Linked DNA regions of Homo sapiens: region 1 is linked to region 2. Evidence: promoter capture Hi-C in 16 types of primary human blood cells and fetal thymus (Javierre and others, 2016). All regions are on one chromosome and are shown on one strand. The core of a region is centred on a gene start or on the middle of the fragment in contact, and the rest is flanking DNA. Distances in the headings are between cores, read along the strand shown. Region 1 holds the start of UQCC5 (ubiquinol-cytochrome c reductase complex assembly factor 5). Region 2 holds the start of RPL29 (ribosomal protein L29).

What was found. Contacts are between HindIII fragments. The CHiCAGO score rates a contact against its expected background, and 5 or more counts as called.
Region 1: a contact is called between a fragment that was not itself captured here and the fragment with the promoter of RPL29 in region 2, in 2 of 17 cell types (fetal thymus and naive B cells). The highest score is 5.5, in fetal thymus.

The regions. Positions count from the first base shown.
Region 1 is chr3:52,534,229-52,540,927 of GRCh38, reverse strand. UQCC5 (ubiquinol-cytochrome c reductase complex assembly factor 5) reads right to left here and starts at 4,323. Exons shown (of 2, transcript NM_001124767.2): 1 at 4,022-4,323; 2 at 1-504. The coding sequence starts at 4,172. The coding sequence ends at 443. It also overlaps a transcript of NT5DC2 not described here. RefSeq lists an enhancer at 3,471-4,004 and silencers at 4,338-4,637, 6,672-6,699. The HindIII fragment of the contact is 7,688 bases long and covers 1-5,680 here.
Region 2 is chr3:51,994,597-52,001,262 of GRCh38, reverse strand. RPL29 (ribosomal protein L29) reads left to right here and starts at 5,368. Exons shown (of 4, transcript NM_000992.3): 1 at 5,368-5,406; 2 at 5,794-5,838; 3 at 6,157-6,221. The coding sequence starts at 5,802. RefSeq lists an enhancer at 5,264-5,423. The HindIII fragment of the contact is 1,082 bases long and covers 5,307-6,388 here.

The DNA.
Region 1 (6,699 bases), core at 587-3,086, 540 kb before region 2:
ATACAACCTGCATAATTATCCTGGTTTAAATGATCTGGCAATAGAGAATGTGTCCATAATTTAATTTGAATTCTGCAAAAAAGTAAATAAGGTTATAATTAGTTGCCTAAAAACAAAGATTGCCGAAAACAATTCGGGCTTCACTGAAAAGCATCCTGATTGATCCTTGAATTGTTTAAGAAATATTTCATGGACTAGATTCATCGAGTGAGTGTTTTAGGAGGAAATAATTTTCCCACAAGTGCTGTCCAGCAGTGACTTGGGAAGTACTCAAGCAGAGACAGAACTATAAAAATTCTTTGCAAAAACAGTTATTGGAATATTGTGCAGCTGATAAAGGACAAGCTGTGTCAGAACAAGAGATCTGAAAAGTATATTTTAAAAGGCACTGAAACCAATAGTAAAAATTCATATTGACTTTATTGACTGCTGAAGTTCAGTCTCATTCATCTTCCAGCCTTCTCTGATACTGTCTTTCTGAGGCTTTTCTACGGTAGACATCATCTGTATCAAACAAAAAGTTGCTCAGATGTTTAAGAAACATATTTAAAATTAAAACAATCTGAATAATTTAACCAATAGTCTAGGTCTGTCACCTACTTCTGAATCTTGGCATTAATATTTAACTCAATGCCAAAATAAACTTAAAACAAAACTTGAGTTAGATGAGGACTATGATAATGGAGTTCTAGACTTAAATAGGGTAAAAGTCAGTGTCTTGAAAGATAGAATCATGTCTTAGCACATCTCTTAGTGTTTTAAGATGTCCCTCACTTCCTTCTCCCCCATAATTTCTATTCTGTGCTCTGAAGTCATCCTTCTTAACTAAAACCTGGCTCCTCAAAGGCACTTCTTGCCTCTTGGCTCTCTGATGCTCCCTCTCCCATATCCAGAAACCTTCAGGTGGGGAGAGGAGATCAGTTTCCTTGTTCCAGCTGCTGCTTTGCCAGACCTTTGACTCGCCACCTTCATGTAAAGAATCTTCTTTCCAGGCCGGGCACAGTGGCTCACGCCTGTAATCCCAGCACTTTGGGAGGCCGAGGCAGGCGGATCACAAGGTCAGGAGTTTGAGACCAGCCTGGCCAGTATGGTGAAACCCCGTCACTACTAAAAATACAAAAATTAACCGGGTGTGGTGGCAGGCACCTGTAGTCCCAGCTACTCAGGAGGCTTAGGCAGGAGAGTCGCTTGAACCCAGGAGGCAGAGGCTGCAGTGAGCCAAGATCGTGCCACCACACTCCAGCCTGGGTGACAGACCAAGACTCTGTCTCAAAAAAAAAAAAAAAAAATCTTCTTCCTTCATGGCTCATGCCATTTGTCTGCCACCATCTTTCTTTGGCACCTGCTCTCCATCATGCCCCTTCAGTCACCAAAAGTGCTGGCCTCTGGCTCAGGTTCCTTGACCCTGTCCTGTGCCTTCTCCCCAGATACCACCATTACCCATGGGGATGAAGCTCCAGTACCCTTCACCTTCAACATCTTCCAGTCACTTGCAGGGCTCCTCTGAAGGATTTCTGTTCATACCACAACCCCCGTTACCTTTCCAGCCCTCCTGTCCTTGGACCTCACGTTTCTTCCCCAGGTCCTTGGCCCCGTCTTACCCGCTCAGCCGCTTCTTGTTCTCTCTCCTGGCAAATCAGCTAAAATTCCTTCATACTCTTGTCAATATCTTAACTTCCTGACACACCCTCAAAACCCCAACCACAGATTAATCCAACTTCCTCCCTTCCCCATGCTTCACCCTGCTTGCTGTGTCCTGAGGGGCCAACTGATGCCTCTAACTGGGTCCACTGAGGTGTCTGACAATCCTGTTTCCTCAGCCATCATCCTGACTCTTTTTCACCCACCCCCAAATGGCCATTTCCTCTCTTCCTTCACAGAGGAAAGTCATCATAAGGAACTCTTCCAGCTAACTTCCAAGGGCTTACTCCTGTCACCCAGCTCTGGTCCCACCCTCTCAAGGGTCCAGTATCTCCAGCCTCTCTCCACCCTCTCCTTCTAGATCATTATTTGCATATCCTGCAGTCTCTCCTAGAGGAAGGGGGGTTACCTCCCCTTCACAGAGCCAGATGTATTTAACCTCCTGTCTTCTGTGATAACAAATCCTCCTGGTTTCCCTCCTTGCCTTTCTGGCCATTCTCAGTTACCCTTAAAATGTTGGGATTTGGGCCAGGCGCAGTGGCTCACGCCTGTAATCCCAGCACTTTGGGAGGCCAAGGTGGGCAGATCACCTGAGGTCAGGAGTTCTAGACCAGCCTGACCAACATGGAGACACCCCATGTCTACTAAAAATACAAAATTAGCCGGGCGTGGTGGTGCATGCCTGTAATCCCAGCTACTCCAGAGGCTGAGGCAGGAGAATCACTTGAACTTGGGAGGCAGAGGTTGCGGTGAGCCAAGATCGCACCACTGCACTCCAGCCTGGGCAACAAGAGCGAAACTCAGTCTCAAAAAATAAATAAATTAAATTAAAATGTTGGGATTTGACTTCCATCATAATTTGCTTCTGAATGGTTCACAAATCCCAATTTCTGGCCCAGATTTGCCTCCTGAGCTTCAGCTCTGTATAACCATATCTACCTCGTCACGTCCCAGATGGTGCCCAGGATGGCCCTGCCTGTGTTCGGCACCTTCAGGAAATGCACTACCCCCTGCCCCAGGTGTCCCACCAGAAGCCTCCACTCCTCATCTCCTGAGTCCACTTAATCACCATGCCCTGTCAGTACTACCTCTGGGCTGTCTTTTACTTCCATCCCTTCTTGGTATCCTTTCTGCCCCAACCTAGACCAGGCCACTGTCTCAACTCTGGACAGCCATACAGCGTAACTGTTCCTACCAATCTGTCCACAAGGAGCCATTCTCCACATGTTAAAGCCTCTCCCTAAAATGACTCAATCCTTGGGATCCATTCTTGGTTCTCCAGTCCCTTTGCCACCCTGCCCAGGCACCCTTCTAGCCATCCCCACTTTGTTGATCTGCTTCAATCCCTCAAACACACAGCATACTCTCACACAAGTGCTCCTACCACTGCCATGGAGATGCTTTCAATTCCACACACCTTCCCCTCATCTGACTGACACCTACTCAGTCTTCAGGTCCTACTTTACTTGGTAGCTGCTTCCGGAAGCCTTCCCTGCACCATCTAGTCCAGTTGAGGCGCCCACCCGAGAGTCCTATGTTCCTCCCACTTCCTTCTCACAGCACTGATCACTTTGTATGCTAATTGTCTTTATCATCTTCTTTCCCATTAGAGCTCTTCTGGGGTAAGGGACACCTCTGCCTTGTTCATTATAGCCCCTCAAGAATGCTCATTAAGTATCAATGAATGGATGAACAGAAGGACTAAGGATCTTTAGGAATCACTAATGTAACAATTCTTTAAAATGTGGGTTGGCAAGTCACAAGTGATAGCGTTTCAGGAGAGGGGCAAAGCAGAAAGGGCCGAGGGGTTGGGGAAGTCCTCCTGAAAGGAACTGGCCTGTCCAGAGTTAATGCTCAGTAATGCAGTGCCAGGCGTTACCACTATCTTTACAGTGCTGATCATCTGGACCCAGACCAAAGACCTGGTGCCAATGACTGTCCTGTAAAGGTAGTGGTAATTAGCAAAGCCAGGCAGATCAGCTCCCTCCAGAGTTTGGACAGAAGAATCCAAAGAGAAATGGCTAGTTAGCAGGAGTTTCCCTGACCCCTCATATCCACCCCCTTCTACGATTGTTGTGAGCAAGTCTGTTCCTTAAGCCCAAACGATGTCACCGGCAGGGGTGAAGGGCAGGCATGAGAGGGCTGGAAGAAGCACGTGATCTCGCCTGTAAGTGCAGGGAAGGTCACAAGGCTGGACGCCAATGTGCCCGGCCTACAGGAGAGCCAGGCCGCCCTGACTGCCAAGCGAATGGAACTGCACTCGCCCAGCGCTCTGAGTGGAATGCGCGGTCTGCAATCTGAGAATACTCCCCAGAAAAACGGATCCCTACCGCCTCGTGCCTTCCTGAAAGGAAACAGAGACTGCTACCCCCTCACTTACAGAAGGTCTCCTGGCCCACGCGCACTTTAATCATGATCCACTCCATCGTTCCTCCCAGGACAAAAAAGAAGGGCAGGAACCGGTAGATGCCAAATCGCTGCTTCCCGGGCACCCGCTGCAGAATCCGTCTCACCTGGGCCCTGGTGAACATGCTCGACCGAGGTCGTGGAGAGGGATATGACGGAACTAAGCACTGGATCGCCCGGACGCAGCCGAGACCGCCCCGCCCGTTCTCGCCGTGTACCGCGACCTGGGAGACTAGCGAGCGCCGTCCTCCGCCACTGTCTGGTAGGCGCACGAGTGCCGGAACTGGGCGCCGACCTTCTAAAGCGAGGCGGATCCGCCAATCAGACTGCAGCGGGGGCGTGCAGCTCCGCCAATCAGAGCACGGCAGGGCGCGCGTGCTCCCTGAAGCCGAGCAGGGCCTCGAAGGAGCTGGCGCAGGCGCCTCAGCTCTGGAGGTGGGACGGCCCAAAAGGGAAGGACAGCCCACGTGGCGCCGGCCCGGCCCCGCCCCCTGCCTCCCCAGTGCAGGTCTGAGCTCGCAGTTGGCAGCCGCGCCCCCTACTCTGCCACCGCCATTTTTATTCCTAATACCCAGATAGAAGTGATGACCCTCTCTGATGGACTATGTACAGCACCACATTCCAAAATGCAATTATGCAATGCCTTGCGTTTATTTCGGAGACGTGATTGGTGCCTAGACTTCTAAAGTAACAGAATTTGATATGGAGTGTTGAAAGCTGAACTTTATCAATTATCACAGCAAAAATCTAAGTAAGCGCCCCGTGAGAACCCTAAAATTAATAAAAGCTATCTTGTATGGGGCACTTACAGTTCCACAGGCACTTGTAGGCGCTTTATTCACAATAATCGCAGAAGAGCAGTATAAAGAGCATGCACTCTGTTACCAAACCACATCCCTGCTCTACAGGTGCTCCCTTAGCCCATCTGTGCCTCAATTCCCTAAGCCGTAAAACGGAGGCCTTGTTCTGACGCTGTGATAATTTAGTGCGGTAATAGGAATGATGCACTGAACACAACCCTGGAGCATAGTAACTGATTAATATTAGTTAGAATATTCATTATGATGATAATGATTGGCAGAGCCCTCGCTCTTCACATGTATTCCCAAACATGGTTTTTGTTTGTTTCTTGAGACAGGACCTCGCTCTGTCATCCAGGCTGAAGTGCAGTGGCGCAATCTCGGCTCACTGCAACCCCCTCCTCCCCGGCTCAAGCCATCCTCCCACCACTACAGGCGTGCACCACCACGCCCGGCTAATTTTTTAATTTTTTGTAGAGATGGGGGTCCCACTATATTGGCCAGGCTAGTCTCAAACTCCTGGGCTCAAGAGATCCTCCTGCCTTGGCCTCCCAAAGTGCTGTGATTACAGGCGTGAGCCACCGCGCCGAGTCTGAACGTGTATTGTTTATATGTAGTCTCTTAACTGACAGTTTAAGAGACTATGCCAGGTAGAAGCAGGGCTCTGACTTAAGAGACTTCACTTGTAATTGCGTCTTCTCATGCTGCTGTGCTTGCTGAAGATAACTGAAAGGGGCTGTCACCCCATTACCTAGGACTAAAGTAAAAACTGCAGGAACAGCTTTGAGAAAGGAGACAACTATTAGACAATCTAAGGAAGGTAAATGAAAGCTTAGAACCAATGAGACGATTTGGTGATATGGACACAAAATATACAAAAGCAGACTGGAGAGAGCAAGCAGGGCCCCAGAAAGGGTCATAGGGCCCGCAGTGAGCAGCCTGAGCTGCCGCCTGTACAACCGGCTTTGGAGGGCCAGCCCGGAAGCCTCTTTCTCCTCCGGGTAGACTCCGCCCAAGCATGCACACACACAGGCTTGATGCTCGCTCCCGTTTCTACAGGAGGTTTTGACGGCTGGATGCTGCAGGGCATCCCCTCGCCTGGAGGAGGTTCACTTGTGGCCAGGTTCCCAGCACACCCACTTGCTCACTGGGGCCCTGGGGACACCGCCACACTCGAGCCCATCCTACGGCCTCAATCCTTACCAGTCCCCAGGCCATGGACTGCCACACTGTAGGTCTTCAATCAAGGTTCAGTGGAGTTTCGAATGTACACACACCCTGAAAGACAGCGCGGCCACCTCAGAAAACAACGCGCGCCCAGCTGGCTCCCCTCCGACAGGGCCCACGGCTACTGGGTCGGCCTCCTCCGGACCCTGAGCACAGCCTGGTATGCGTGCGGGCTCGGAATACGGATCTGAGCAGAAGAAATGCGAGTGGAGAGCGGTTCTGCGCAGGAAAGAGGAATTTTGTTGGAAAGCCTGTCGACGTTGCTAGAAAAGACCACAGCATCTCACGAGGGGCGTGCGCCGGGAAACCGGGAGTTGACGGGTCAGTGCGGCCAGTTGCCGAGGTCCGAACCAAGCGGGCGCAGTGACCGTGGCCCACAACCCTGCAGCGCACGGCCCAGTCACCTGGTTAGCGGACGTCGGCTGCCCTGCAGGCCCCTCGGCCTCCCCCAGCGTGGGCCTGGCACCGGGAAGCGCGGGAAGGGCTCTTTATTTGTTAGACCAGTGAGTGGACTGGCCCGGGCTCTGGTCAGTGGGCAGTCAGTCCGAGCCCAGAGACCGGGGACCAGGACCCCGGGAAAGGAGAGCACCAGGACTAGGGGGAGGAGCGGAGGATCTGGGGTCAG
Region 2 (6,666 bases), core at 4,119-6,618:
CAGGGATTACAGGTGCCCACCCCCACACCCATCTTAATTTTTTGTATTCTTAGTGGAGATGGGGTTTCATCATGTTGGCCAGGCTGGTCTTGAACTCCTGACCTCAAGTGATCCACACAGCTCAGCCTCCCAAAGTGCTGGGATTATGGGCGTAAGCCACCATGGCTGGCCCCCTCCATCCCATTTTTAAACCCCCAACCCCAGGGCATTCAATCGCTGCTGGCAAAACCCTTGTATCAGGAAGCTCACTACTGCTGGGAGCAGCCCATATTTTGGAGGGAATTCTGATTGCAAAAATGCCCCTTGTCCACGAAGCTGGCATTTGCTGTCCTCAGTCACAGCTCTGTCTTCTAGGGACACACAGAATCAGGTAGCCCCTCCCTCAGAAAGTTCTAAGCAGATCCAAAGTCCCAAAGCCCACCCCACCTCCACACTTCTGTCTTGTGGGGGTAAAACAACCAGATAAAACACCCTGGTTCTGACAACCTTCACAGTCCCTCTTACCTGAAAACACTGGTAGTCCCTGTATCTCAGGAACCTCAGAGGCTGAAGGGACCCAGCCCCCGCGAGCACCGCCACTTTCCTCCACCTTGGCTTTCTCTTGTTGTTCCTTGGATCTTGTCCTTATTTTTAGCATCCACTTGCCACTGATTTTCTTTCCCCAAGCCCCGTCTCCCTCACCTGAGGCCTTGTGGGGAAGATGCATGGATGGGACTAACAATGATTGAGCACCTACTGTGTACTTAACATAGTGTTCTGTGCTTTACTCAAATTATCCAGTTTAGCCCCAAGAGGTTATTACTATTTTTATCCCCACGTTACGCTGGGAACTGAGGCTTGGCAAGCAAGGCTCTGGGTCCAGGAGAAGAGCTGACTCTTATCTCTGAGAAATCCCTCCAGGCCAGCTGGCTTCTCCACCCTGATTCTGTCATCTTCCTGGATTTGTGAAATGTGCACATTTAACTCCTCAAACATGTATCAGGTCCCCATATACTCCTGGGACTGTGACAGGAACTGCAAAAACAACCCCAGGGGTCTCCAACCCCATCACTTTGCTGAGGAGACACTATGGGATCCTACTCGGGCTTTGAATTGGGTAATGGGTCTGGACAAGGCCTGGTCAAGACAACACCCTTGCAGGCCACATGGGTTGGGCTGATCACATCCAGCCCCATCCAGCCCTATCTTGTCACCCAGGCTCACATCTTTCTCTGCCTTGTGCCCAAGGCATTTGAGAGAGACCTGGCTTATGCTCTGCTGAGTCCAGATAGTGGCTCTGCCCAAGTCTACTCCATGGAGGAGGCAAGTGGAGCCCGGCCTCCAGGCAGATTTGAGATGGAGCAAGAACCACTCACTCATGGAGGGTGAGAGTGTGTCAACCCTAGAGGAAAGGTTAAGTTCTTTGCCTTTTTGTATGTGTGTGCCAGAGACTCCATTGACATATGGTGATATTTATTGACCTCTTCTCAAAATAATGTTTCAAAATATGTAAAATAGATTAAGATTACAAAAGATTTTCATGAGCAGAGAAAGATGTCCACAAATTATGACTAAATGCATAAAATCAGGTTACAGAAGAGTTCATATAGTGTAAGTTTCCATTTATGAAAGAGAGGAGTGAAAAAGGGAGGGAGGAAGAAAAGAAAGAAAGGAGGGAGGGAGGGAGGGAGGAAGAAAGGAAGGAAGGGAGAAATAAAGAAAACTATCCCTAGAAAGAATACTATCTTTATAGACATGGATGACCCTACCATCCATCCCACTTTGAAAAGCATGACAGGGACTAGGCGTGGTTGGTCACGCCTGTAATCCCAGCATTTTGGGAGGCCAAGGTGGGTGGATCACTTGAGGTTAGGAGTTCAAGACCAGCCTGACCAACATGGTGAAAACTCATCTCTACTAAAAATACAAAAATTAGCTGGGTGTGATGGCAGGCGCCTGTAATCCCAGCTACTCAGGAGGCTGAGCCAGGAGAATCGCTTGAACTGGGGAGGCGGAGGTTGCAGTGAACTGAGATCGTGTCATTGCACTCCAGCCTGGGCAACAACAGCAAAACTCTGTCTCAAAAAAAAAGAAAAAGAAAAGAAAAGCATGACAGGTCAGTGGCTCCAGGTCATGGTCCCCTTTGGCTCCTGGACAGGTCCCCTCAGGTCACAGCCAAAGTTCCTCATTCTTGTCACTGACTCCCCCTTGCCTAACAGCTGGGATTTAACTCTGGGCCAATCCCTAACACAGCCCCAGTGGTACTGCATGACCATCGTCCATCTCTGAATCTGCCTCCCCCGTCAGACCGTGGCTTTCTGCTCACTGCTTTTTCTGCCTCTGTCGTAACAGTCTAGCTAAACCAAGTCACTACTCACTTTTTAGGAGCTGCGGGAGTCGCTACCCAGCTGGAAGGCCACATAGCAGGGCAGCCTGGTTCTTTTAAAGTCATCACAGGCTGGACATGGATTACAGGCTCACGCCTGTAATCCCAGCACTTTGGGAGGCCAAGGAGTGTGGATCACCTGAGGTCAGGAGTTCGAGACCAGCATTGCCAACATGGTAGAACCCCGTCTCTACTAAAAACACAAAAATTAGCTGGGCATGGTGGCAGGTGCCTGTAATCCCAGCTACTCGGGAGGCTGAGGCAATAGAATCGTTTGAACCCAGGAGGTGGAGGTTGCAGTGAGCCAACATCGCGCCATTGCACTCCAGCCTGGGCAATGAGAGCAAAACTCTGTCTCAAAATAAATAAATAAATAAATAAAATAAATAAAAGTAAATAAATAAAGTCATCACTGCCCCCGCTGTCAGCCTCTACCCTGCTGGCTTCTCTTTCTCAAGGATGTGGCAGTCAGACCTCCTCCTCCCTGTCCCAGTCTCCACAGCCACCTCTTCAACTTCCTGAGCTGAAGTCCTGACTTGCTGTCAGGCATCACACCACCCCCACCTCCTGTAGCCCCTGTCTTTGCCCACCAGGTTCTCTACCTGTGCTCAGCACCCCACAGGGACTTTATTCCTGCAGAGACACTCTCCTCTGGGCTCAGCTGTTTCTTTCTTGGCACCAGATCATCCATCAGTATATAAGCCTGCTTTTCATTCTCCCAACTCACACCTGTCAGAATTCTCTCCCCTTTCTCAGGAATGCTTTGGTAATGAGTCATCCACATGTCCTGCCTCCACAACCTCCTTTCCGCTTCACTCCCTAAACCTCTGCAGTATGCGTCTGTCACTCCACGAACCTGGCTTGTCAAGGAACGTTCACTGGGCATGTGTTTATTAAGCTCTTGCTCTATCTACATTATGCTGAGTTAGGCAGTGGGAAAATGAAGGTGATCAAACCAGTCCCAAACTCTGGGCTCCTATGATAATGGACACATACACAACTAAGTAAACAATGCAATTAGAGTCTGGGAAAGTTCTATAAAGAAAGCAAACCATGGCCGGGCACGGTGGCTTACGCCTGTAATCCCAGCACTTTGGGAGGCCGAGGCGGGCAGACCACCTGAGGTCAGGAGTTCAACACCAGCCTGGCCAACATGGTGAAAACCCGTCTCTACTAAAAATAATTCTTTAAAAATTAGCTGGGAGTGGTGGTGTGCGCCCGTAATCCCAGCTACTCAGGAGGCTGAGGCAGGAGAATCGCTTGAACCCGGGAGGCAGAGGTTGCAGTGAGCTGAGATCGCACCACTGCACTCCAGCCTGGGAGACAGAGTGAGACTGTCTAAAAAAAAGAAAAAAAAAAAAAGAATAGAAAAGAAAGGAAACCATGAGAGGACACAGAATCACTGGTGAGATGAGGCAGTGGTTCTCTATTTTAGATAATGGAGTCCAGGGAGGCCTCTATAGGAAAGAGCACACCATCCAAAAAGCAGGGAGAAGGGCAGTCCAGGTGGCTGGGATAGCAAGTGCAAAGGTCCTGAGGCAGAACACACATTTGTGGTTGGCAGGAAAGAAAGGCAATGCGTTTGGAGAGAAGTAAATGACAGAGGTTGTCAGGGTCAAGTGGGTAAAGAATTGATCTTCAATGCAAGGGGATGTCCTTGCAGATTTAAGGGACAGGATCTGATTTGTATCTTAAAACAAGTCCCCAAGCCCCACTGCCGTGTGGAAAATGAACTATAGGGGGAAGAGGTGGAGAAGGCAACAGAGTTGTTAGAGGCAACAATTTCTCAATTCTGATGTCCAACAGGCATCTCACATTTAATGCATCCAACAAAAATATCTGGCTCATCATTCCCCCTCAAAACAAAACAAACAAAGCCCCTGCTCCCCACTCAATCTTCCATCTCTGTAAACAGCCCACCATTCACCCAGTTGTCAAGCCAAAGACATAGGGGCTATCCTTGCCTCCTTTTTCTCCCTCATCTTCTGTGTCCCAAGTCCAGTACTCTTTCTTTGTCCACTCCTCTGCATTCCCACTGTCCTCCCTCAGGTCCAGGCAGCCCTCTCTCCTTCCTCCCCTCTGCTCCTTCTCCACGAAAGAGTCAGGCGTGCTTTTCTTTTTTTTTTTTGAGACAGAGTCTCGCCCTGTAGCCCAGGCTGGAGTGCAATGGTGCGATCTTGGCTCACTGCAACCTCCACCTCCCAGATTCAAGCAATTCTCCTGCCTCAGCCTCCAGAGTAGCTGGGATTACAGGCACGTGCCACCACGCCCCGTGAATTTTTTTTTTTTTTTTTTTTTTTTTTTTGGATTTTTAGTAGAGATGGGGTTTCACCATGTTGTCCAGGCTGGTCTGGAACTCCTGACCTCGTGATCCGCCCACCTCAGCCTCCCAAAGTGCTGGGATTACAGGGGTGCTTTTAAGAACACAGATCGGCCAGGTGCGGTGGCTCACGCCTGTAATCCCAGCACTTTGGGGGACAGAGGCGAGCGGATCGCGAGGTCAGGAGTTCGAGACCAGCCTGGCCAACATGGTGAAACCCCGTCTCTACTAAAAATGTAAAAATTAGCCGGGCGTGGTGGTGGGCGCCTGTAATCCCAGCTACTCGGGAGGCTGAGGCAAGAGAATCGCTTGAAACCGGAAGGCGGAGGTTGCAGTGGGCCGAGATTGTGCCACTGCCCTCCAGCCTCGGTGGAAGAGCGAAACTCCGTCTCAAAAAAAAAAAAAAAGAAAAAGAACACAGATCTTCTTGCCCAACAACATCCCTCAAGGACTCCTTTCTTTTTCAGTATCTTGAATAAGACTTAAGAGACAGGTCCTGGAGAAACAGAGAAGGGAGGAGGCAGCCTGAAGGGGGCGGAGGCAAGCTCGTAGCACCGCCTCCACGTCTGGCTTGCGTTCTTCCGGGCTTCGGAACTTTTCTTCGCGGAGCCTGGGGAAGCTTTTCCAGTAGTACTTTCCGGCGTTGTTGACCCTATTTCCCGTGCTGCACCGCAGCCCCTTTCTCTTCCGGTTCTAGGCGCTTCGGGAGCCGCGGCTTATGGTGAGTGTTGGCCGCGCGGCATCCGATGCCATCCGCGACTTACGGGTGGCGGCGGGGCGCGGGCTGCGGAGAGGACTGGTGACCGACCGTGTGTCTGTCGGGAGCAAAAGCTGCGGGGTGGGAATGGTGCTTCTAGGTCCTAGGAGGGGGATGGCAGGGAAAGCCACTTTATTGGGGAATGCAGCTTTCCGGGGGTAAGGAGTTGATTTCAGGGCATCATTACCTGGGTTTGGGAGGCCAGGACTGGCGTTTGGTCGTGCAGAGTAAGCCGAGACTCGTGGAGGCTGCACATTCTCTGCCTGCAGGCTCATTCTGACCAGAATGGGGGGGGCAGAGGTGGCCCAGCCTGGCGAGCCCTTAACCCTGATCTCCACTTTTGTCTTCCAGGTGCAGACATGGCCAAGTCCAAGAACCACACCACACACAACCAGTGTAAGTTTTTTGGGCCCTGCCTACATCCCAGACCCTGGCAAGGACTGGTTCAGGCAAACTGGGACAGAGATGAAGGGGCACGTTTCCATTGTGGGCCTGAGGCTGATTGATTTCACCCAGTAATAACTTTAGGGTTTATAGGTTTAGAGATCTACTTGAGATACAGAGTGTTTTGCATTTAGTAGTAAGGGTTTCCCATATCTCAAGTGTAGCTGCTGTAGGAAGTGTTGGTTCTCCCAGACTTGCCAGCTGTGATGTTGGGTGGTCTTATTAGAGGAAAGTTCTTTGTTGGCTTAATTCCCTTTTTTTCTCCCACAGCCCGAAAATGGCACAGAAATGGTATCAAGAAACCCCGATCACAAAGATACGAATCTCTTAAGGGGGTGAGTGCACTGAATCACATGGAAGTGTCTTTTCTTGGTTCCAGGTGCACAGTCAAGGCCTCTCATGTAGTTTTTCTCTAGCTTTGGCTTCTGCCTGAGCACAGCCTAACTGGCCCACCCAAAGCCTGCAATTCCTTTTTCTACCCTACCAGACCCATAATAAAGCTTTCCTTGGTCTCCACAGCCTGAAGTGTAACCCTCTGGTCAGGGTGTAACCTGCCTCCTGAGGGCAGTTTGGCTATCTCCCTTGCTTGGCAGTGGCACTTAGGGTAAGGAGTGGCCTTGTCTGAGTGCGTGCAGGGCACATTCCCACACTGACCAGCCTTATGACCTCCATCTGACCCAGTGCTGGAGTTGGGGTCAGCTTCTCTTCCTGTGTCAGGGGGTTCTAAGGATTAGCTGAGAAGGCTGGAGGGTCTAGGGGAGAGCTGAGCATGTCCCCAGT